Linked DNA regions of Homo sapiens: all the other regions are linked to region 5. The links are contacts of gene promoters, found by promoter capture Hi-C in blood cells and fetal thymus (Javierre and others, 2016). All regions are on one chromosome and are shown on one strand. Each heading gives the region's core, a stretch centred on a gene start or on the middle of the fragment in contact. The rest is flanking DNA. Distances are from core to core; before and after follow the strand shown.

Region 1 (2,729 bases), core at 16-2,515, 430 kb after region 5:
TTATACAGGGAGATATAAAAATATAAAGGGAAAGGAAATGTGAGGCTAGAGAATTGGGAGAAATAGAGTCTTGTTCTTTCAGATACTAAAATGCACTAAAAAGCTGTAACAAGCAGGGGTGTTACTGCTAGATTGGTAAACTAGAATATAAAAACCAGAAACAGGCCGGGCACGGTGGCTCATGCCTGTAATCCCACCACTTTGGGAGACTGAGGCGGGCGGATCACAAGGTCAGGAGTTCGAGACAAGCCTGGCCAACATGGCGAAACCCTGTCTCTATTAAAAATACTAAAATTAGCCGGGCATGGTGGTGAGCACCTGTAATCCCAGCTACTCAGGAGGCTGAGACAGGAGAGGTTGCAGTGAGCTGAGATCGTGCCATTGCACTCCAGCCTGGGCAACAAGAGCAAGACTCTGTCTCAAAAAAAAAAAAAACAGACTTGGATATATTTAAGAATTTAGTAGATGATCGGCTGGGCAGGGTGGCTCACGCCTGTAATCTCTGCACTTTGGGAGGCTGAGGTTGGTGGATCACCTGAGGTCAGGAGTTCGAGACCAGCCTGGCCAACATGATGAAACCCCGTCTCTACTAAAAAAAATACAAAAAATTAGCTGGGCGTGGTGGCGCATGCCTGTCATCCCAGCTACTTGGGAGGCTGAGGCAGGATAATCACTGGAACCCGGGAGGCGAAGGTTGCAGTGAGCTGAGATCGAGCCACTGCACTCCAGCCTGGGCAACAAGAGCAAAACTCCATCTCAAAAAGTAAAAAAAAAAAAAAAAGAATTTAGCATATGATTACATGGCATTTTAAATCAACACGGGAAAAAGTGGACTTTTCAGTGACTAGAGTTGTGATAGTTGGTTGACTAGCTGGAAAGAAAGTTAAGCTACGTTCCAATCTCATGTCCTACCCGCAAAATGAACTCCAATGAATTAAAGACTTAAATGTGAAAAAGTAGGGCTACGTAAGTACTAAAAAATAAAAGTGGACATACATAATTGGATGACGAAGTCATTATAAACTAACACTTATAAAAGCCACATTTTATAAAGGAAGATAATCAGATTAGACAACATAAAAATGTTAAGCTTATCTACAGTTAAAATAAACCTTAAATAATGTTCAAAATTTAGACAAATGACTAACTGGGAAAAATATGTTTGTAACATATAGGACAGACATTAGGTTAATATCCTCATAAATACATGAAGAGCTTTGATTAATCAATTGAAAAATGATCAATTAAAAATTAGAAAAATATTAAAAGACATGTTCAAGTGGTTCACAAGAGATATTAATGGCCAATAAATGTGAAAAGATGTTCAACCTCACTAATAAAGACATGCAAATGATTTAACATTTTTTTATTTACCGTATCTGCGAAAGTTAAAAAAAAGTATGATAAAACCCAGTAGGGCTTCTCACAGATCCATCTCCGCCAAGCTTGTTATATTGGAGGTGAGAACTTCTTACTGTTTTTTGCTTTTTTTATTTTTTATTTTTTTATTTTTTGAGATAGAGTCTCACTCCGTTGCCCAGGCTGGAGTGCAGTGGCATGATCTCTGCTCACTGCAACCTTCACCTCCCAGGTTCAAGCGATTCTCCTGCCTCAGCCTCCCAAGTAGCTGGTATTACAGAGGTATGTGCCACCAGGTCTGGCTAATTTTTTGTTGTTATTGTATTTTTTAGTAGATACGGGGTTTCACCATTTTGGTCAGGCCGGTCTCAAACTCTGACTAGTGCTAGGATTACAGGTGTGAGCCACCATGCCCAGCATGTTTTTTGCTTTTTTTTTTTTTTTTAATAACAACTTTATTGAGCTATAAATTTACATATTATCTCCTGGTTTTTTTTACATGCTAAAAATGAGCTAATTTTTATTGGCTAAGCTATTGTCTTTAGTGAGACAGTTTAGTAATACCAGCAATAATGTAAAGGCATTGTTTTTTTTATTTACTTATTTAGAGACAGGGTCTCACTCTGTTGCCTGGGCTGGAGTGCAGTTGTGTGATCACTGCTCACTGCATCCTTGACCTCTTGGGCTCAAGCAGTCCTCCCACCTCAGCTTCTCAAGTAGCTAGGACTACAGATGTATACCACCAGGCCAGCTAATTTTTTATTTTTTGTAGAGACAGGGTTTTGCCATGTTGCCCAGCTGGTCTTGAACACCTGGACTCAAGCGATCTGCCTACTTCTGCCTCCCAGAGTGCTGGCATTACAGGTGTGATCCACCGTGCCTGGCCAGCATTGTTATTTTTAGAGTTTACTTAGTAGTATCTCTGCACTTTATAAGCAGGCAGTTTTCTTTTTTTTCATCTTCTGAGGCCAGAGAATCTTAAAATCATTCTTTGGGAGATTACTTATACAAGGAAAAAACCTGGAAGCAACCTAAATGTCTAGTGATAGGGGATTTATTGAATAAATCATAATATAATCTTAGAATATTATATAGTTATTTAAAGTGATGATAAAGAATGAAAATTATTGATATGGAAAGATTAATGTATAGTGTGCCAGTGAGAAAAGCAGATTATAAAACTGTAGAGTATGATCTTGTTTTTGTATGCATATTACATATGCATTTGTACAAGTTAATGCCTAGAACATTTTTCAATGCTTATTGAAAATAATTAGATTTTTTTCTATAAAATAGAATGTTGAGACGTCTGGGTATTGGGATTTCAGGTTATTTGATCTTATTATTTTTAAACAGCCTTATTAAGGTAT
Region 2 (3,192 bases), core at 188-2,687, 490 kb after region 5:
GGTGGTAAAAAAAAGAAGAATGAGTGGAAATGACATGGCAGGTGAGTATAATTAGTACAACCTAATTACAAATTTGCCAAATCTATCCAAATTGCAAATGTACATGCAGTGTGACCTGGCAATTCTACTTCCAGGATTTTAGCCTAAAGATATTTACACGTGGGAAATAATAGTCTACAAAATTATTTATTATTTACTACTTATATTAGTAAAAGACTGGAAACAAATTGTCTATCATTTAAGAAGAGTAAGTAAACAAGTTACAGGTATGACCATACAACAGAATACTATGCAACTGTAAAAAAGAATGAGGAGACTTATTTTCCAGATCCGCATGTAAGGAACTTGAAAGTCGCCACTTCATTCTAACAAGTAAAAAGCTAAACAGCCTGAAAAATCAACAGCTCTTCCTAGATCTGTAAGAAAGGTGAGGATACAAGTCAAACTGCTGCCCCTAAGATAGGAGAGACCAGCAGGCAAATACAGGAAATTATATCTTACTGGAGCAGAGATTCATGAGTGGAAACCACCATGGGAACCAGTGCCAGGGTAGAAGAACCTGTCAGTAATTGAAGAATTGGTGGAGGCTCAATGTGGACAGTCTAAGAATTAAAACTCCTGGGGAACCCAGTTATAAGGGGTGCCCCCCGCCTGCACTTTCGTGAATTTTACCTCCAAGAGCTTCACAGTTCTCACAGTAAATATAACAGGAAAATTCCCTCATACTTCCAGCAAAGAGAGGAGGAAAGCACTGTTTTGTTTATAGCAAAAACACTGCGAATGAATGAAAAGTGCTTTTGATGGGCTCATTAATAGGCTGGACATGAATTAGGAGTGAATCTCTCAGCTTGAAGACATGTCAAATAGAAACCTACAAAACTGAAAATTAAAGAGAATAGGACTGAGCAAAATATCCAAGGACTATGGAGCTAAAAAGTTGTAATATACATGTTATAAGAATAGCAGAGGGAAAATACAGAAAGAAAAGAACAGAAGAAATATTTGAGGCCAAATGTGGTGGCTCATGCCTGTAGTCCCAGGGCTTTGGGAGGCCAAGGTGGGAGGATCACTTGAGGCCAGGAGTTTGAGACCAGCCTGGGCAACATAGTGAGAGCCACACCCATTTTTAAAAAAAAGCCAGGCCGGGCACGGTGGCTCAGGTCTGTAATCCTATCACTTTGGGAGGTAGAGGCAGGTGGATCACCTGAGGTCAGGAGTTCGAGACCAGCCTGACCAACATGGAAAAACTCTGTCTCTACTAAAAGTACAAAATTAGCAGGGTGTGGTGACACATGCCTGTAATCCCAGCTACTCGAGAGGCTGAGGCAGGAGAATCGCTTGAACCCAGGAGGCAGAGGTTGTTGAACCAAGATTATGCCATTGCACTCCAGCCTGGGCAACAAGAGCGAAACTCTGTCTCAAAAAAAAAAAAAAAAAAAAAAAAACCCAAAAAATGAAAAACACATAGATTAAATGGATGGAGAAAATATACCACACTAACACTAATCAAAAGAAAGCAAGACCATCCTAGACAACATGGTGAAACCCTGTCTCTACTAAAAATACAAAAATTAGCTGGGCGTGGTGTTGCACACCTGTAGTCCCAGCTACTCAGGGGGACTAAGGCAGGAGAATCGCTTGAACCTGGGAGGCAGAGGTTGCAGTGAGCCAAGAACGCGCCACAGCACTCTAGCCTCATGACAGAGCGAGACTCTGTCTCAAAAAAAAAAAAAGAAAGGAGTAGTTACATTAATTGCAAACAGAGGAGACTTAAAAGCAAGGAAAGTTATCAAGGATAAAGAAGGTCATTAGATTATGATAAAGAGATCATTTCTCCAAGACATAATAATCCCTAACATGTATACACCAAACAACATAATATCAAACTACATGAGCCCCAAACTGATAGAACTGTAAGGAGAAAAGATTAATCCACTATTACACTGGGAGATTGCAACACTCTTTTATCAGAAGTAAACAGATTCAGCTGGCAGAAAATTTAGTAAGGACATAGTTGAATCCTACAACACTATCAGTCAACTGGATATAACTGACATCTATAGACTAGTTCAGCCAACAACAGCAGATTACCCTTTCTCCTCAACCCCACATGGAACATTCACCAAGACAGACCATATCCTGGGTTATAAAACACACTTTAACACATTTAAAAAAGGAAATTAGGCCAGGCGCAGTGGCTCACGCCTGTAAACCCAGCACTTTGGGAGGCCGAGGCGGGCAGATCACGAGGTCAGGAGATCAAAACCATCCTGGCTAACACGGTGAAACCCTGTCCCTACTAAAAATACAAAAAAATTAGCTGGGTGTGGTGGCGGGCACCTGTAATCCCAGCTACTTGGGAGGTTGAGGCAGGAGAATGGTGAGAACCCGGGAGGCAGAGCTTGCAGTGAGCCGAGATGGTGCCACTGCACTCCAGCCTGGGTGACAGAGTGAGACTCCGTCTCAAAAAAAAGAAAAGAAAACAAAAAACAAAAAAAACAAATTAGGCCAGGTGCAGTTGCTCATTCCTGTAATACCAGCACTTTGGGAAGCCAAGGTAGGAGGGTCAACTTGAGCCCAGGAGTTCAAGACCAGCTTGAGCAACATGGTGAGACCCTGTCTCTACAAAAAATTCTAAAAATGACTGGGTGTGGAGGTACACACCTGTGGTCCCAGCTACTTGGGAGGCTGAGGTAGTAGAATCACATGAGCCCAGGAGTTCGAGACTGTAAGAAGCCACGATTGCACCACTGCACACCAGCTTGGGTAACAGAGCAAAACCCTGTTTCCTAATTAATTAATTAAAAATAAAAATCAGACAGTATCTTCTCTCAGAAGACAATGGAATTAACCTGTAATCAATAACAGAAAGACAATTGGAAATATTCAAAATATGTGGAGATTAATGAACATACTTCTAGGGCCGGGCACCATGGCTCACATCTATAATCCCAGCACTTTGGGAGGCCGAGGCAGGAGGATCACCTGAGACCAGGAGTTCAAGACTAGCCTGAGAAACACAGTGGGACCCTGTCTCAGCAAAAAATACAAAAATTAGCCAGGCATGATGGCATGCATCTGTAGTCCCAGCTACTCAGGGGGCTGAGGTGAGAGGAACTCTTGAGCCTGGGAAGTCAAGGCTGCAGTCGGTCATGATGGCACCACTGCATTCCAGCCTGGGCAACAGAGTGA
Region 3 (2,896 bases), core at 349-2,848, 340 kb after region 5:
TCAACTACTAGGGAAAAACCCATTGTCATTGCCAGGTAGAGTTGAATATGTGACCCTGTGACATAGCAGCTTCTCTTCTAGAAACTCTTATATATCTTTACTGGAAACATGTACGAGAATTTTCAGAGCAGCATTACTTTTAATTCCAAACTTTCCTGTAAAACCCAAATGTCCATTAACAACATAATGGATAAAAAAGTTATGATATGTTCAAAGAAAGGAATACTTCACAGCTGTGAAAAATGGATTATAGTTTTAGATATTAACTTTGATAAATCTCAGTGGAGAGAAAGAAGAAGCCATCAAAAAATCTGTAAGTTATGATTCTTTTTATTTAAAGATTGATAGGCTGGGAGTGGTGGCTCACACCTGTAATCCCAGCACTTTGGGAGGCCGAGGCAGGAGGATTACTTGAGGCCAGGAGTTTGAGATCAGCCTGGACAACATAGCAAGACCCCATCTCTAACAACAAAAAAAAGATTAATAGCTAAACAATATATAGTAATACACACATAGGTGTTAAAACTTACCATAAAATCAGTTCAGGCAAATAAAGTTTATTTTAAGGACTTAAATGTTTAGCATGTTAATTTGAGTGCCTAATATAGAGGCTGTAGGAGGATAACAGGCCCTGCTCTCAGGGAACAATTAGTCCTTTCTGGAAAGGTGGGGTAGGTCTCTGACCTGGAAGTGATGATGGCACCTTGGGGGATGGATTGTGGAGGCAAGAGCTTGGTCTGGATTGGTCATAAGGTATAGAAAGAGGAAAGGAGGGAGAGGTTTGACCTGGGCTTAAAAGACTGGGAGGATGTGGATAAGTGGAAAATATATCTCTGGATAAGGGGAAGGAAGGGTACGGGGGTTGGGTGCATGTTCCAATTATGAGGAGGCTGACCAGAGATAGGACGGGAGGTCTAAAAGCCAGGTTGAGGAGTTTGAAGTCCATCCTATAAACCTCAGAGAACTCCCAAAGGCATTTCATTTTCAGCGGGGTAGTCAAAGGATAAACATGTTTCATGAAGATTAGGTTTCAGGCAAAAATTGCAGTAGGTGGGGTGAGGGACAGCTAGAGGTGGGGCACTATGCAGGACCTATTGCAGTGGTTCAGGCACAAGGTATGACCAGGTATGACTAACTTAGTGCAGTAGTTTGGGAGAGGAGGGAATGAGAGAAGGAAAAACTGACTAGTGACAAATTGGACTTGGTGAGTGAAAGGGCGGAGAGTGGAGGGTGACTCAGAGGTTGGGGTTTACCAGCTTAGAAGGACTGTGATAACATGCCACAATTTGTACAGTGCTTTATGGTTTACCAAATGCTATTTTTGTACCTCATCTCATTTGATGTTCCCCAAACCATGGGGAGGTGGAAAGGAGGGATTTTATTTTCCCTGTTTAAGGCCTAAAGAAGCAGAAATTCAGAGATTGAATGACTTGTTCAAGTTTGTGGTGACCACTTACAGAAACAGGTTCACTGTAATAGCATAAGGGAGAAGTCACAGGAAAGCGAATTTAGGGAGTTTTTAAAAAACCTTTCTTGTCTTTTGGTTCTGAGTTCATCTTATAAAAATAAACTTTTACTTTTCCTGATTGTAAAAGTCATATTCATTGTAGAAAACTTGAAACATATAGAAAAGAACAAGGATCGGCTGGGCGTGGTGGCTCATGCCTGTAATCCCAGCACTTTGGGAGGCCAAGGCGGGCGGATCACAAGGTCAGGAGATCAAGACCATCCTGGCTAACACGGTGAAACCCCGTCTCTTCTAAAAATACAAAAAATTAGCCGGGTGTGGTGGCAGGTGCCTGTAGTCCCAGCTACTTGGGAGGCTGAGGCAGGAGAATGGCATGAACCCAGGAGGCAGAGTTTGTAGTGAGCCGAAATCGCGCCACTGCAGTCCAGCCTGGGCGACAGAGCGAGACTCCATCTCAAAAAAAAAAAAAAAAAAAAAAAGAACAAGGATCACTTAAATTGTACAATCACTTAAATTGCACAGTCAGGAGATAATGTCTCTTAAAATGGTGGTGTGTTTCCTTCCATCCATGTAGATTGCTTTAAATAACTATAATTAAAAACTTTTTTGGGCTGGGCGTAGTGGCTCATGCCTGTAAATCCCAGCACTTTTGGGAGGACAAGATGGGAGAATCACGTGAGGCCAGGAGTTTGAGAACAGCTTGGGAAACATAGTAAGACCCCCATTCTCTATAAAAAAAAATAATAATAAATAAATTAGCTGGGCATGGTGGTGCACACCTGTAATCCCAGCTACTTAGACTGAGGTGGGAGGATTGCTTGAGGCTGGGAGTTTGAGGTTGCAGTGAGCTATGATTGTGCCACTGCACTCCAACCTGGGTGACAGAGTGAGACCCTGTCTCTTAAAAAGCAAAAAACAAAAATATTTTTTAAGCAGTTTTGTTTTTTAGTTCTAGGAAACATTTAACTATTATTTATTTAAATGTTGTCCCCTTAAGTTTTCTCATTTTCTCTTCTGCAGCTCCCTCCAAAAGATAGATTGAGACGCATCTTGATCTGTCCTCCGTGTCTCTTCACTTTTCTTTTACTTCCCCTCTCTGTGCTATCTTCTGGGAGGATTTTTTAGCTCAATATTTTAAGTCACGAATTCATTCCTCAAGGTCTACTCAGCTCTTTAGCCCACTGAGTTTTTAAATTTGAGTTTTTGTCTTCAGTCTATGGTTTGCTCTTTTTTCTTAATTGCTTATTCATGTTTTATGGTTGCAGCATACTTCCTTATCTCTTTGAGGATATTAATTACACTCACTTTAAAGTCCTATTCTGATTGCTGTATTAAAAACACTTTTTATTGAGTTATAAATGTAATCAGCCAAGGTGTACAAAATCCCTAAGTGTACAGCTTGATGAATTTTCCTCATGCTCCCATGTA
Region 4 (2,785 bases), core at 156-2,655, 320 kb after region 5:
TGAAAACAGAAGAAGTTGAATCACAAAATGTTACATGTAATAAGGACAGAGGGATTTGACTAATGGCCTAATATGTAAAGTACAATGCTTCTGGCTGCAAGTGACAGAGGACCTAACTAGAAATAGCTTAAACAACAAAGATGTATTACACCAAGTAGCAAAGAGTTCAAATGTTGGATGGTTCTAGGGTTGGTGAATTTCAGCAGCTCTGTGATTACACTTGGGACAGGGACGCAAGTTCTTTCCATCTTTCCATTCTGCCATCCCCAGGTGCTAGCAGCTTTGCTCATGGATGGCTGAAACAGCTCCAGGTATTGCTTTCTCACCCAGTCATTCCAGAGGCAGAAAATGGTTAGGTATCTTTCTCGAGTCTCTTTTTTAGAAGGAAGGAGACTTTCTCAGAAGCCCCTCTCCACACCATCCTCCAAGACCACCCCATACATCTCATTGGCCATGGTTGCGTCACATGCCCGTGACTAACCAATCTCTCACATGTGGAAAGGAGTGACCACAGTTGGTTGAAACCAATCAACCTTGACCCTTTGTGCATGGGAAGGGTCTATACAGGACAGGAAGAAAAGTGGGAAGTAGGTGAGGGGGGAATAGATGTTGGTTGGACAGAAAACGAACTGTGTCTTTTACGGCTCAGCTCCTCCCCTCACAGATGGGGACCTGAGCTTGAGCGAGATTTCCTCAAGTCAAGTGCCACAGGACTTGGTGGCAGTCGGGGGTAAATTTGGTTCTCACCTTTTGCTTATGGCCTAGAGCAACTCGAGCATGGAACTAAGAATCTGATTCTCTGTGAAAACTTTCCCTTCTAAAATCATCTTAAGGGTCGGGCACAATGGCTCACATCTATAATCCCAACACTTTGGGAGGCAGAGGCAGGAGGATTGCTTGAACCCAGGAGTTTTAGACCAGCCTGAGCAACATGGTGAGACCTCATATCTACAAAAAAAAACAAAAACAAAAAACAAAACAAAACAAAAAAATATAAAATCACCTTAAGTCCATGGCCAGTCTGAGATGTAATTTTCAGAGCTGACTCAAGCCTTTGACGTCTGTTATGCCTCCAGCCCCAGTGGAATGCCAATGAGAAGTTCAAGGGCACAGTGGGCAAGTGCTCTCCTGGCCGGCTGCAGGTTCAAATGCCATCACTGCCTTATCTGCTGTTTGTTGATCTCAGCGAACTATTCTGGCAGCAGCTGGCAGTGATACCATCTGCAAATGACAGTAGCAACCCCTATCAGGCATCCCTGTCAATGAGACTGTATCAGTCAGTGGCCAGCCAGGAAAATGGAAACCACAGAGATATTTCAAGTTTTAATGAAGAGGATTGGTTACAAAGCTGTTGAAAGGGCTAGAGAACAAAAATATGATAAGGGGTGCCATAGTCTGAATGTTTGTCCCCCTCAAACCTCATGTCAAAATTTGATCCCCAGTGTTGGAGGTGGGACTGAAAAGGAGGTGTTTTAGTCACAGGGAAAGATCCCTCATGAATGTGTTGGTGCCATCCTCATCCTCAATGAGCGAGCTCTTGCTTTATTAGAGTGTTCTCACAAGAGCTGGTTAAAAAGAGCCTGGTCCATCCCCATCTCTTTTACTCCCTCTCTCACCATGTGATCTGCACACACCGGTTCTCCTTCCCCTTCCACCATGAGAGGAAGCAGCCTGTGGCCCTCACCAGAACCAGATGCTGGTGCCATGCTTCTTGTACAGCCTGCAGAATGTACACCAAATATACCCCACCCCTCCCCTCCCCTCCCTTGTTCTTCTCTTTTCTTTTTGACAGGGTGTCACTCTGTCACCCAGGCTGGAGTACACTGGCACGATCTCAGCTCACTGCAACCTCCACCTCCCAGGCTCAAGCGATCCTCCCACTTCAGCCCCTCAAGTAGCTGGGACGCCAGGCACGTGCCTCCATACCCGGCTAATTTTTGTATTTTTATAGAGACGGGGTTTCATCATGTTGCCCAGGCTGGTGTCGAACTTCTGGGCTCAAAATCATCCCGCCTCAGCTTCCCAAAGTGCTGGGATTACAGGCATGAGCCACCACACCCAGCCCTCTTTTCTTTATAAATTAGCCAGCTTCAGGTATTCTTTTACAGCAATACAAATGGACTAAGACATGGATGTTTCCCAGGGATTAGGAAGCTGCTTTATTCCAGGCACCCATACATGTCATTGCTGAGCTGCTAGAGGGGCTGCCCCCACCCTACACAATAATCCAGCCCCTAATCCAGCCAGAACCACTGGCACTGCCAGAGCCAGAATGGCTTTTCCCTTCCTCCAGCCTTCTCATCTCTTCAGTACTTCCACTGGCCAGACCCAATTAAAAACCAATTGGTTGGAGGAAAGGGATGGAAAGAAATGGATTGAGGCCCCAACAGATCATATGTGGAACAGAAACATGTGAGATGATGATCAATAGCATAGATTTCAGACTCAGAGAGGCCTGGGTTTGGGTCTTCACCCTGTGACCATGGGCAAGTCACCTCCCTGGTGTAAGACCTAGTTTACTCATCTATAAAATAGGAATGATGATATACCCATTTCAGAGTATTGTTGTAAAGGCTCAAGAAGAAAATTATTATAAAGGACTTTAGCAGTGTCCAGCATCTTAGAAGGGGCTAAACAAATGTCAGCTGCAATTGTGTTCATTACCATCTTCATCATTATCATCATCACCTTCACAATAATCTCAATACTTCTAGCCACAGCCTTTGCAACAAGCTCCTAGGCCCCCTTGCATCAGGGTCCCACTGTACCCTTCTAGGGGTAGCCA
Region 5 (3,116 bases), core at 288-2,787:
ATTTCAGATGAAGAATTTCATTCTTTTTCAGGCTTTCATAGCCAGCAACAAAGACTCCTGGAAAAAGAAGCAGAGGTAGCTGTCACAAATTGTTAGAAAGATTGCAGACCATGCAATCCCCCGAAGTAAGGATACATTCCTTCACTGTGCAGCCTTGTATGGAGGAATTGAGTACCTGGTTGTGTCTTTTTCAGACAAGGTCTCGCTGTGTCAGCCAGGCTGGAGTGCAGTGGTCCGATCACAGCTCACTGCAGCCTCAACCTGCCAGGCTCAAGTGATCCTCCCACCACAGCCTTCAGAGTAGCTGGGATTATAGGCGTGAGCCACCATGCTCGGCTAATTTTTGTATTTTTTGTAGAGACAGGGTTTCCTTGCTTAGGTTAGTCTCAAATTCCTGGGATCAAGCAATCTGCCCGCTGCCTCAGCCTCCTGAAGTGCCCAGCCTGAAGACTTTTTTTGTTAGCCACGCTGGAATACAGTGTCGTGATCTCAGCTCACTGCAACCTCCACCTCCTGGGTTCAAGTGATTCTCCTGCCTCAGCCTCCCCAGTAGCTGCTGGTACACAGGTGTGCACCACCTCGTCCGGCTAATTTTTGTATTTTCAGTAGAGACGGGGTTTCACCATGTTGGCCAGACTGGTCTCGAACTCCTGACCTCAGGTGATCCGCCTGCCTCGGCCTCCCAAAGTGCTGGGATTACAGGCGTGAACCACTGCTCCCGGTCAGAGATCTTAATAAGAGGAATATTAGTGCTGATGGGGCATCAAATTGCTACAAGTGACTCTCAGGTGCCCAGAAGAGTGGGTTGGGTCCCTCTAGGCTTAGCTCCTGAAACCCAGCTCAGGAGTGAGATTCCCTCTCCTTCAGGGCTAGAAAGGTATACCACCTTTGTCATCAATCCATTCAAGGACTCGAGTGGCTCCTGACAGGTCGAATGCATAGAAATCCTGGTACCTGCACAAAAGGGACACAGAATCACACGATGCACAGCACTTCACAGCTCAAAGAACTCCAAGATGGCAGCCGCATGGTTCAGTGGCCCAAACTCTGGAGTCAGGCAGACGTGGGACTGAGTTTACTTCCCATTTTACTCCCTGTTTCTGGGACCAGGCCAGTCCCTTGATGTCCCTGAGCCTCGGTCCTCATGTGTGGACGTCCCAGGGTACCCAGATTTCCCAAGGTTGACGTGAGGAATCAATGAGATCATCTGTGTTCTGAGCTGAACTCAGAGGCTGGCGCAAACTAACTGGGCACTGCGTCTTCACAAGCGCGGCTCTTACTAGTAATCTCACAACGCGCGCACGCAGGAAGGAGCCATTTCCTAGAGATGGGGGCCTAGGCCCAGGCGGAGTCCTCCACGGTGGCGAGCCCCGAGGCCACAGCTGGCCCACTCTGCACCAGGATCCCCAACGTGCCTCCACCCACACCCATCCGCCCGCCAGGCAAGCTCCAGGCCCAGCTCCCATGTCCCAGCCCCGTACGATTTACAAGCGCAAGGATTCCACCAGCCAGTCGTCCCCAGGATCCATGGCAACGACCGCTTCCGGCGTCTCACTTCCGCCTGCGAGCCTTCGGGGGCCGCGCGGCTCTCGCGAGATGTGGGCAGGGCCTCCCGTTAGGGGCGGGGTTAACAGGCTGAGCTGCGGCCCGGCATGGGTGGGTTACGGGTTTTCTCCGCGAAAGCTCCGGGAAAAGTGACCTGAAATCGGGACTTTCCCGCTGTCAGCTCCAAGCAGGACCTGAGGACCAAATGATCGCCCGTTTTAGGGCCAGGTGTTTGCAGCCCAAGAGAGGGGCAATGAATGCTCCAAGGCCAGAAATAATACAGGACCGCCCGGTTAAATTCGAATTTCAGAAAAACGGTGAATAATTTCTTTCTTACGAGTATGTTCATGCAATATTTGGTACATTTTATTAGATAAAATTATTGTTTATCTGAAATTCGAATTTAACTGGGTGTCCAGTATTTTTATTTGCTAACGCTGGCAACCCTTCTGACGGCCAGAGAAGAGAGGAAGCGGCCGGCAGGGTCTGGATCCCAACTCGGCGCTCCCCTCCAAGTCCGGCGGGGGTATTGAGTAAAGCCCGGCAGTGTAGTGTCTGCAGCCCCCTTTTACTAGCGAGGAAACTAGTGACACTTGCCTGCGCCAGTAGGTGGCAGAGATGAGAGTAGAACCCCGCGCCTGGCACGAAGCCTGGCATGCAACAGGCGTTATTTGCTTGCTGAATGAATGGGTAGGAGGCCAGAGTCAGTGCCAGGCTGGTGCCATGGCATGGGGTATTCTGGACTTTTTGAGCCAGCCCCATCTCACTGAACACTCTGCCCTCCAGCCCCCTTTTCCTCCCATCCCCTAAAAGACGGGTGAAAGGAGAGGACCAGGCATTGTATGTAAAGAGCAAGGTTTTATTCACCAATTCAACAGGGAAGCAGGAAATACAGCAGGAACATAATCTGTGTCTGCATCAGCGATATTTCTGGTGACCCAGCCAGAAATCACAGTAATGGAGTAACAGAGATTTGAGCTCAGGATTTACATCCAGATGGGGCCATCAACAGGGTCCCATTCAGCACCTTCCCTGGGTGGGCACAATCTAAGCCACGCTGTTGTGTCTGCCCCATTATTGGTGTCATTTCTGCAGTATTTGTACCAGCAGCCTCCTGTACTGAAGAGAAACATACAGAAGAATTGAGCCAGGGAGGGGCTCCTGATAAAGATAGGGGCATCCTGCCATTCCTAAGTGCCAGATGTCTGCAGAGGTGGGCACCAGCAGGCTGTCAGCTGAGGCAGGCCCCAGAGCACCCTGAATTGCCTTGGAGGGGTCGGGGCAGTAGTTTTCTCAGAACACAGCCCCAACCACCCAGGGTGGTCATGACAGTCAAAGAAGATCGTGGAAGAAAATCCAAATACAGTGCTTGGTGCTGGGCTAGTGTCAGCGTCCTCACTCCCCCACCCCAGCTCTGCCCCAGACCTCACTCTGAAGCCCCAGACGTAGGCACTGCTGCTTCTGAGATTCTCTAGTTGGTCTGCATGTGTCAGAGCTTCAAAACCAAGGGCATTAGAGGTGACATTGTTTCCCTTCAGACTCAGCCAGCCCAAGCTCCTAGGCCTTACATC
Region 6 (2,784 bases), core at 187-2,686, 390 kb after region 5:
AAATCTCATTAAAGCTCATTAGCCAACCCAATAAAACCTAGGCTGGCCTTTGCAGTCAGGATGCTAGTAGTGATCAGGTATGCAGGCAAACAGCTGTAGAACCTCCAGACAAGGCTCTCTGTCTGAATATACAGTGTGTTACAGAAACATGATTGACAAATGTAAATATTCCTGAAATAGATTCATCTGAGAGAGAGGCATGCTGCTAATTTGTTAATCAATTGATTTGGTATCCATATCACCCATGCCTGCTGAATTCAGTTTTTCTTTAGAAGGGAGTTAAATAAATAGCACTGAGTTCTCAACCTTTGGCTCCCTGCTCCCTGGGGCAGCCTGTAGACCCCCCTTTTCATTCTGACAGATGAATAGGCAAGTGATCAGTTTTGTCTTTTGGGAGGGTGGAGGGAAGAGGTAGATTCTAGTCTGGCCTCCATGATTTTATACCTCAGATTGCCACATTGGATTTGAGGATCCTCAGATCTCAGTGACATGTTTGAAGAAGATCTCGGATTGGGTTATCTCTCCTATAGTTGACTATTCTCATTTTTCTATGGGTTAATTCTTACTAGTTTTACTTTCAAAGGTAATTTTAACATTTCGGGAAAACTTACATTTGTCCCCTGTATTTAATACGTTAATACGATATTTAAGAACTAGATCCTACTTTGTACAGTATTTCAAGGTATCATGAAATTAATGGTTTTTTGTTTGTTTGTTTGTTTGTTTGTTTGTTTTTTTGAGGCAGGGTCTTACTCTGTCGCCCAGGCTGGAGTGCAGTCGTGTGATCTTGGCACACTGCAACCTCTGCCTCCCGGGTTCAGGTGATTCTCCTGCCTCAGCCTCCTGAGTAGCTGGGACTACAGGTGCCCACCACCACGCCAAGCTAATTTTTGGTATTTTTAGTAGAGACAGGGTTTCACCATATTGGCCAGGCTGGTCTCGAACTCCTGACCTTGTGATCCACCCACCTTGGCCTCCCAAAGTGCTGGGATTACAGGCGTGAGGCACCACACCCAGCCAGTGTGTTCTGAAAGAAATAGTGCTTTGGAAAAATACAGTTTAAAAAAATGCCTTGTAATATGTATGTGCATTATAGAATTATAATTTCATAGCAAAAGCTTCTTGGAAAATATTTGCTGTAGATATTTAGAATTTATTGGGCATTTACTCATTGTCAGGCATTGTGGTAACTACTTGAAATAGCTTATTTAATCTGGATATCATTTTTTGCCCAACACTACGGGTTTGGGAAAAAAGGATGTGCATGATTTCACCCCAGTATATAACTAGAATTTGCAATCAGTCAGGGTAACATACACAAGGTTCACAGTAAATATTTACTGTTTAAATCGACTGATGGGAAAATCAGGAACAGGTAGGGGGAGGAAAGAGACTATGACAGTGGGGGACAGATAAAGAGTCTGGGAGAAGAACCAGGGAAAGCAGCTGAGAACTTTGCCTCAAGAGTAGACCTTGGTGCCATCTTGTGGGTGGATCTGGAAAGGACCAAGCAGATGCACATCAGTTGCTACTAAGATGCCTTGCAGAGCCCCAAATTTCCATGCCACAATGATAGAAAACTGCAAATCAGATAATCAGAACTCTGGTCTAGGAATCAGTGGATCTTAGTGATGGAATCAGTGTCCTGTCCATCAGCAAGTCCTGATCACTCTCTCCAAAACACATCCTAAATCTGTTTATCTCTGTGGCCGGCCCCAGGCCAAGCCACCATCTTCTCTTGTTTGGACTACTGCAGAAGCTTCCTTATTGGCCTTGCCTCTACTCTCATCCTCCCGTAGTTCATTCTCCATTGGCAGCCAAAGACATCTTTTTTAGAAAGAAGAATCAGATTATGTCACTTCTTTGTATAAAACCTTTAAGCGGCTTTTCATGAAATTTAGAATAAAATTCAAATGTCTTGTCCTGCCTTAGAAAACTCTGCATCGTATGACCCCTGCTTAGCTGTAACTTCATCTCATGACCTTCTTTGTATGGCCCCTGCTTAGCTGTAACCTCATCTCTTGACCTTCTTCCTCTTTGTTTCCTCCAGTGTCCCACCTTATTTCCACTGTAGGTCCTGTGCACTAGCTGTTCCTCTGCCTGGTACTCCTTCCTCCACCTCTTGCATGGTTGGCTACTTCCTGTCATTCAGATCTCACCTCCTGCATTGCTGCCTCAGAGGGGCCTTCCTTGACTCTGATTCAGTTACTCTCCATCACATCTTTCCCTGTTGTTAATCAGAGATATTGTCTGTCTTGCTGTCTATTGAATCCTCAATGCCTAGGAGACCATTTGGCACATAGTGGATGTTCAGTAAAGATCTGTCAGAAGGATAAATGCTGTTTTCCAGTTTCTTGATCTTTTTCCAGCTAGATACAGATTACGGCCAGGTTATTTTAGACTTTTCCTAATAGAGCATGAAAAGATCACAGGAATTAAATTCAGACAGAACTGGGTCCCATTCCTGCAACTACTGCTTACCAACTATTTGACCATACTTCTCTGAGTGTCAGCTTCTTCATCAATAAAATGGAGTTAATGAGCTTACCTTGCTCATAAGGTAAGAACTAAATTGGACTTAAATATGATTGGATCCAAAGTATTTACGTGTTAGATACTTTTTTCTATTAAAACTGACTGGACCATGTTGTTATTTGCATTTTCCTCTCCTGCTACCCAAGGGACAGGATTAGGTTCTTTGTACTCCTAGTATCTAGCACTGCACTTGTCTTACAGTAATAGGTGGTCCACAAGTGTCTGGATTTAGACTCTTCCACACCTAAG
Region 7 (2,827 bases), core at 106-2,605, 360 kb after region 5:
TTTGAACCTGGGAGACAGAGGTTGCAGTGAGCCGAGATCGCGCCATTGCACTCCAGCCTGAGCAACAGGAGCGAAACTCCGTCTCAAAAAAAAAAAAGCAATAGTGGGAGGAAATTATGTGGAGAAAGTTTTTGTGTTTTTTGCTTCTTTTCAAAGTATGGATGAGATATGCCCAGGATGGTGGTGGTAGATATTGTGATTATTTCTACTCTCAATTCTGTAGTTATAATATCCAGAATAAGTATGGTTTGATGAGCGTTTCAAAACAACCACTTTGGCTATCAAGTGAAAAGTAGATTGTAGAGCAACAGAAGTGGCAGTAGGCTAACTACAGGACTTTTGCAGCTCTTCAGAGAAGTAGTTTGGATTTCATGGTAGCAGTAGATGTAGAGGGATATAGGCAAACTTGGGATATATTTTGGAAGTAGAGTCTGTAGTGGTACTAATTAAAATAGTCATGTAGATAAACTGTTTCTTACTGTTTCAGGACAAGATGAGTCTATGCCAGATGTAAGTCACCACACTCATTTACTGATTTCTTCCTTGAGGATTTTTTGTTGTTAAAAAATTTTTGTGGTTGATCTGCATTCTGTCTTAAACTCTTTATTTCATTGTGGATTATTAACAGTTGGTCCACGGGCCACACTTTAAGCAACGTCAATCTCTAGTATCCATCTTAGGGGCAAACCATGATCTATTTAACCAGTCTCTTACTATTGGGTAGATGGTTAACCCTCACATCATCTTTTTTTTAGTATTAGGAATAAGTAACATTGCCATGAAATGCTTGTTTCTATAATTATGTGTATATATCTTATGCTTTCTTTAGGATAATTCCTGGAAATAGAGTAAGGATTTTGGAACATAATGACAAATTGTTCTCCATTTTACACACTTGCAGAGCCACATTTTTACCAGTATGAATTCTTTTTTCAAAAAAATCTTTGCTAATTTGGATGACAAATAGCAAGTTGTTATATGAATATGTACTTATTTGATTACTAGTAAGAATATTTTAAATGTATTTTTTGGAATTGATACATCCACCTTTGCCATTTTTAATGCTCTTGGATCATTTTTACTTTGGGGTGTAAGTACCATTTACATTAAGGTTATTTACTCTTTGTATAATGAAAATATTTTTCCTCTGTTTTAAAAATGGATTTTGGTATTTTTGCATCATGTAGAAATTGTCCTTTTTTATAGACTCTCCTAGCAGTATAGTTACTTGGGAGGTGTAGTTGGTCAAGCCTTGCTGCCTCCCTGCTTCCATCTCTAAAGAGGTTGCCCTTTGGTGGTAAGGGCAGTTCACTATTGTGAACTTGCTGGGGTAAAAGGTTTTGGTGTGAGGAACTTAGGAGTTAAAAACTCTTCTGTAAGGGAAATGTATATGAGTGATGGATGATATTAAGAGGTTATTTTTAAATTTTGTTAGGTGTGAAAATGGAATTGTGGTTGAGTAGAAAAATCTGCATACACACATAGATGTATTTAGGGGTGAAAAATGTGAGGGATTTTCTTGAAAATACTACAGTCAAAAAGATAGACATAGCAAATGTATCAACATTTAAAAAATTTTTGATTTGAGTGATGGGTTTATGAGTGTTCTTAACACTTTTAAAATTTTATTTTAAAGAAATGGGGTCTCGCTGTGTTGCCCAGGCTGGACTAGAACTCCTGGGCTCAAACGATCCACGTATGTCAGCCCCTACCGAATAGCTGGCATTACAGGAGCACTGTGCTTGGCTTCTTAATACTATTCATTATTTTTGTGGGGTTTTTTTTGTTTTGTTTTGGAGTCAGAGTTTCGCTCTTGTCACCCAGGCTGGTGTGCAATGGCATGATCTTGGCTCTGCAACCTCTACCTCCCAGGTTCAAGTGATCCTCCTGCCTCAGCCTCCCAAGTAGCTGGGACTACAGGCACCCACCACCACACCTGGCTAATTTTTGTATTTTTAGTAGAGACGAGGTTTCACTATGTTGGCCAGGCTGGTCTCAAACTCCTGACCTCAAGTGATCTGCCCACCTTGGCCTCACAAAGTGCTGGAATTACAGGCATATGAGCCACTATGCGTGGCCAGTGTGTATGTTTCGAAAAGGCTCTTGGGTCTCTGGAGAACTTTGGGGGAGTTTTTTTTTGGTTTTTTTTTTTTTTTTTTTTTTTTTTTGGCTTCCTGTGACTAGGATTCTCTTCTTAGTCTCTCTTCTGGCACTTTGCAGGCCGGGTGGTTGGTGATCTACATTACAAATGGAGCCACCAGTAAAGTCAGAAATGAGTCAAAGAAGGAGGTTTATGGTTGCCCCTTTATTTAAATGATCATGGTCATTGGCAAATAATAGGTATTCTTTCTTAGGCACAAGATTACTAATCTTCTCAATTCTCTGTCTGTGTTTATTTTTTATGTGATCTGTCTGCCAAAGAAGGAGAGTAGTGTTTTGAAGTCCTTCAGTCACAGTTGTGGTTTTGGCGAGTTTTTCCTCATACTTCTCACAGCTCTGGGCATTAAGAAAACAACAAGGGCCCGGCGCAGTGGCTCATGCCTGTAATCCCAGCACTTTGGGAAGCCAAGGCGGGTGGATTACCTGAGGTCAGGAGTTTGAGACCAGCCTGGCCAACACGGCGAAACCCTGTCTCTACTAAAAATACAAAAGTTAGCCGGGCATGGTGGCGCGTGCCTGTAATCCCAGCTACTTGGCAGGCTGAGGCACGGGAAGTGCTTGAACACGGGAGGTGGAGGTTGCAGTGAGCCAAAATTGTACCACTGCACTCTAGCCTGAGCGAGACTGTGTCTCAAAACAAACAAACAAAACAACAACAAAAAGTTTT

Evidence for each region. Contacts are between HindIII fragments. The CHiCAGO score rates a contact against its expected background, and 5 or more counts as called.
Region 1: a fragment that was not itself captured here is called in contact with the fragment with the promoter of WDR73 in region 5 in 1 of 17 cell types (M1 macrophages); the score reaches 5.2 in M1 macrophages.
Region 2: a fragment that was not itself captured here is called in contact with the fragment with the promoter of WDR73 in region 5 in 1 of 17 cell types (fetal thymus); the score reaches 5.5 in fetal thymus.
Region 3: a contact is called between a fragment that was not itself captured here and the fragment with the promoter of WDR73 in region 5, in 1 of 17 cell types (naive CD4 T cells). The highest score is 5.6, in naive CD4 T cells.
Region 4: a fragment that was not itself captured here is called in contact with the fragment with the promoter of WDR73 in region 5 in 11 of 17 cell types (naive CD4 T cells, fetal thymus, neutrophils and 8 more); the score reaches 9.3 in naive CD4 T cells.
Region 6: a contact is called between a fragment that was not itself captured here and the fragment with the promoter of WDR73 in region 5, in 11 of 17 cell types (total B cells, naive CD4 T cells, naive CD8 T cells and 8 more). The highest score is 11.5, in total B cells.
Region 7: a contact is called between a fragment that was not itself captured here and the fragment with the promoter of WDR73 in region 5, in 3 of 17 cell types (naive CD4 T cells, naive B cells and total CD4 T cells). The highest score is 8.5, in naive CD4 T cells.

What each region holds. Positions count from the first base shown.
Region 1 is chr15:85,085,255-85,087,983 of GRCh38, forward strand. The region is part of intron 6 of PDE8A (phosphodiesterase 8A); the gene reads left to right. Among named protein-coding and RNA genes, the nearest start is that of PDE8A, 100 kb to the left of the region's middle. The HindIII fragment of the contact is 355 bases long and covers 1,089-1,443 here.
Region 2 is chr15:85,144,161-85,147,352 of GRCh38, forward strand. No RefSeq gene overlaps it. Among named protein-coding and RNA genes, the nearest start is that of PDE8A, 160 kb to the left of the region's middle. The HindIII fragment of the contact is 3,940 bases long and covers 1-3,192 here.
Region 3 is chr15:84,991,519-84,994,414 of GRCh38, forward strand. The region is part of intron 1 of PDE8A (phosphodiesterase 8A); the gene reads left to right. Among named protein-coding and RNA genes, the nearest start is that of PDE8A, 11 kb to the left of the region's middle. RefSeq lists a silencer at 1,080-1,374. The HindIII fragment of the contact is 8,126 bases long and covers 1-2,896 here.
Region 4 is chr15:84,969,883-84,972,667 of GRCh38, forward strand. It overlaps a transcript of SLC28A1 not described here. Among named protein-coding and RNA genes, the nearest start is that of PDE8A, 11 kb to the right of the region's middle. The HindIII fragment of the contact is 6,079 bases long and covers 1-2,785 here.
Region 5 is chr15:84,652,746-84,655,861 of GRCh38, forward strand. It overlaps WDR73 (WD repeat domain 73), which reads right to left and starts at 1,538. Exons shown (of 8, transcript NM_032856.5): 1 at 1,489-1,538; 2 at 887-954; 3 at 1-57. The coding sequence starts at 1,529. NMB (neuromedin B) reads right to left here. Exons shown (of 3, transcript NM_021077.4): 3 at 2,387-2,664. The coding sequence ends at 2,629. RefSeq lists enhancers at 891-1,858, 1,285-1,524. The HindIII fragment of the contact is 10,475 bases long and covers 1-3,116 here.
Region 6 is chr15:85,042,978-85,045,761 of GRCh38, forward strand. The region is part of intron 1 of PDE8A (phosphodiesterase 8A); the gene reads left to right. Among named protein-coding and RNA genes, the nearest start is that of PDE8A, 63 kb to the left of the region's middle. RefSeq lists an enhancer at 1,480-1,559. The HindIII fragment of the contact is 641 bases long and covers 1,117-1,757 here.
Region 7 is chr15:85,017,803-85,020,629 of GRCh38, forward strand. The region is part of intron 1 of PDE8A (phosphodiesterase 8A); the gene reads left to right. Among named protein-coding and RNA genes, the nearest start is that of PDE8A, 37 kb to the left of the region's middle. The HindIII fragment of the contact is 5,799 bases long and covers 1-2,827 here.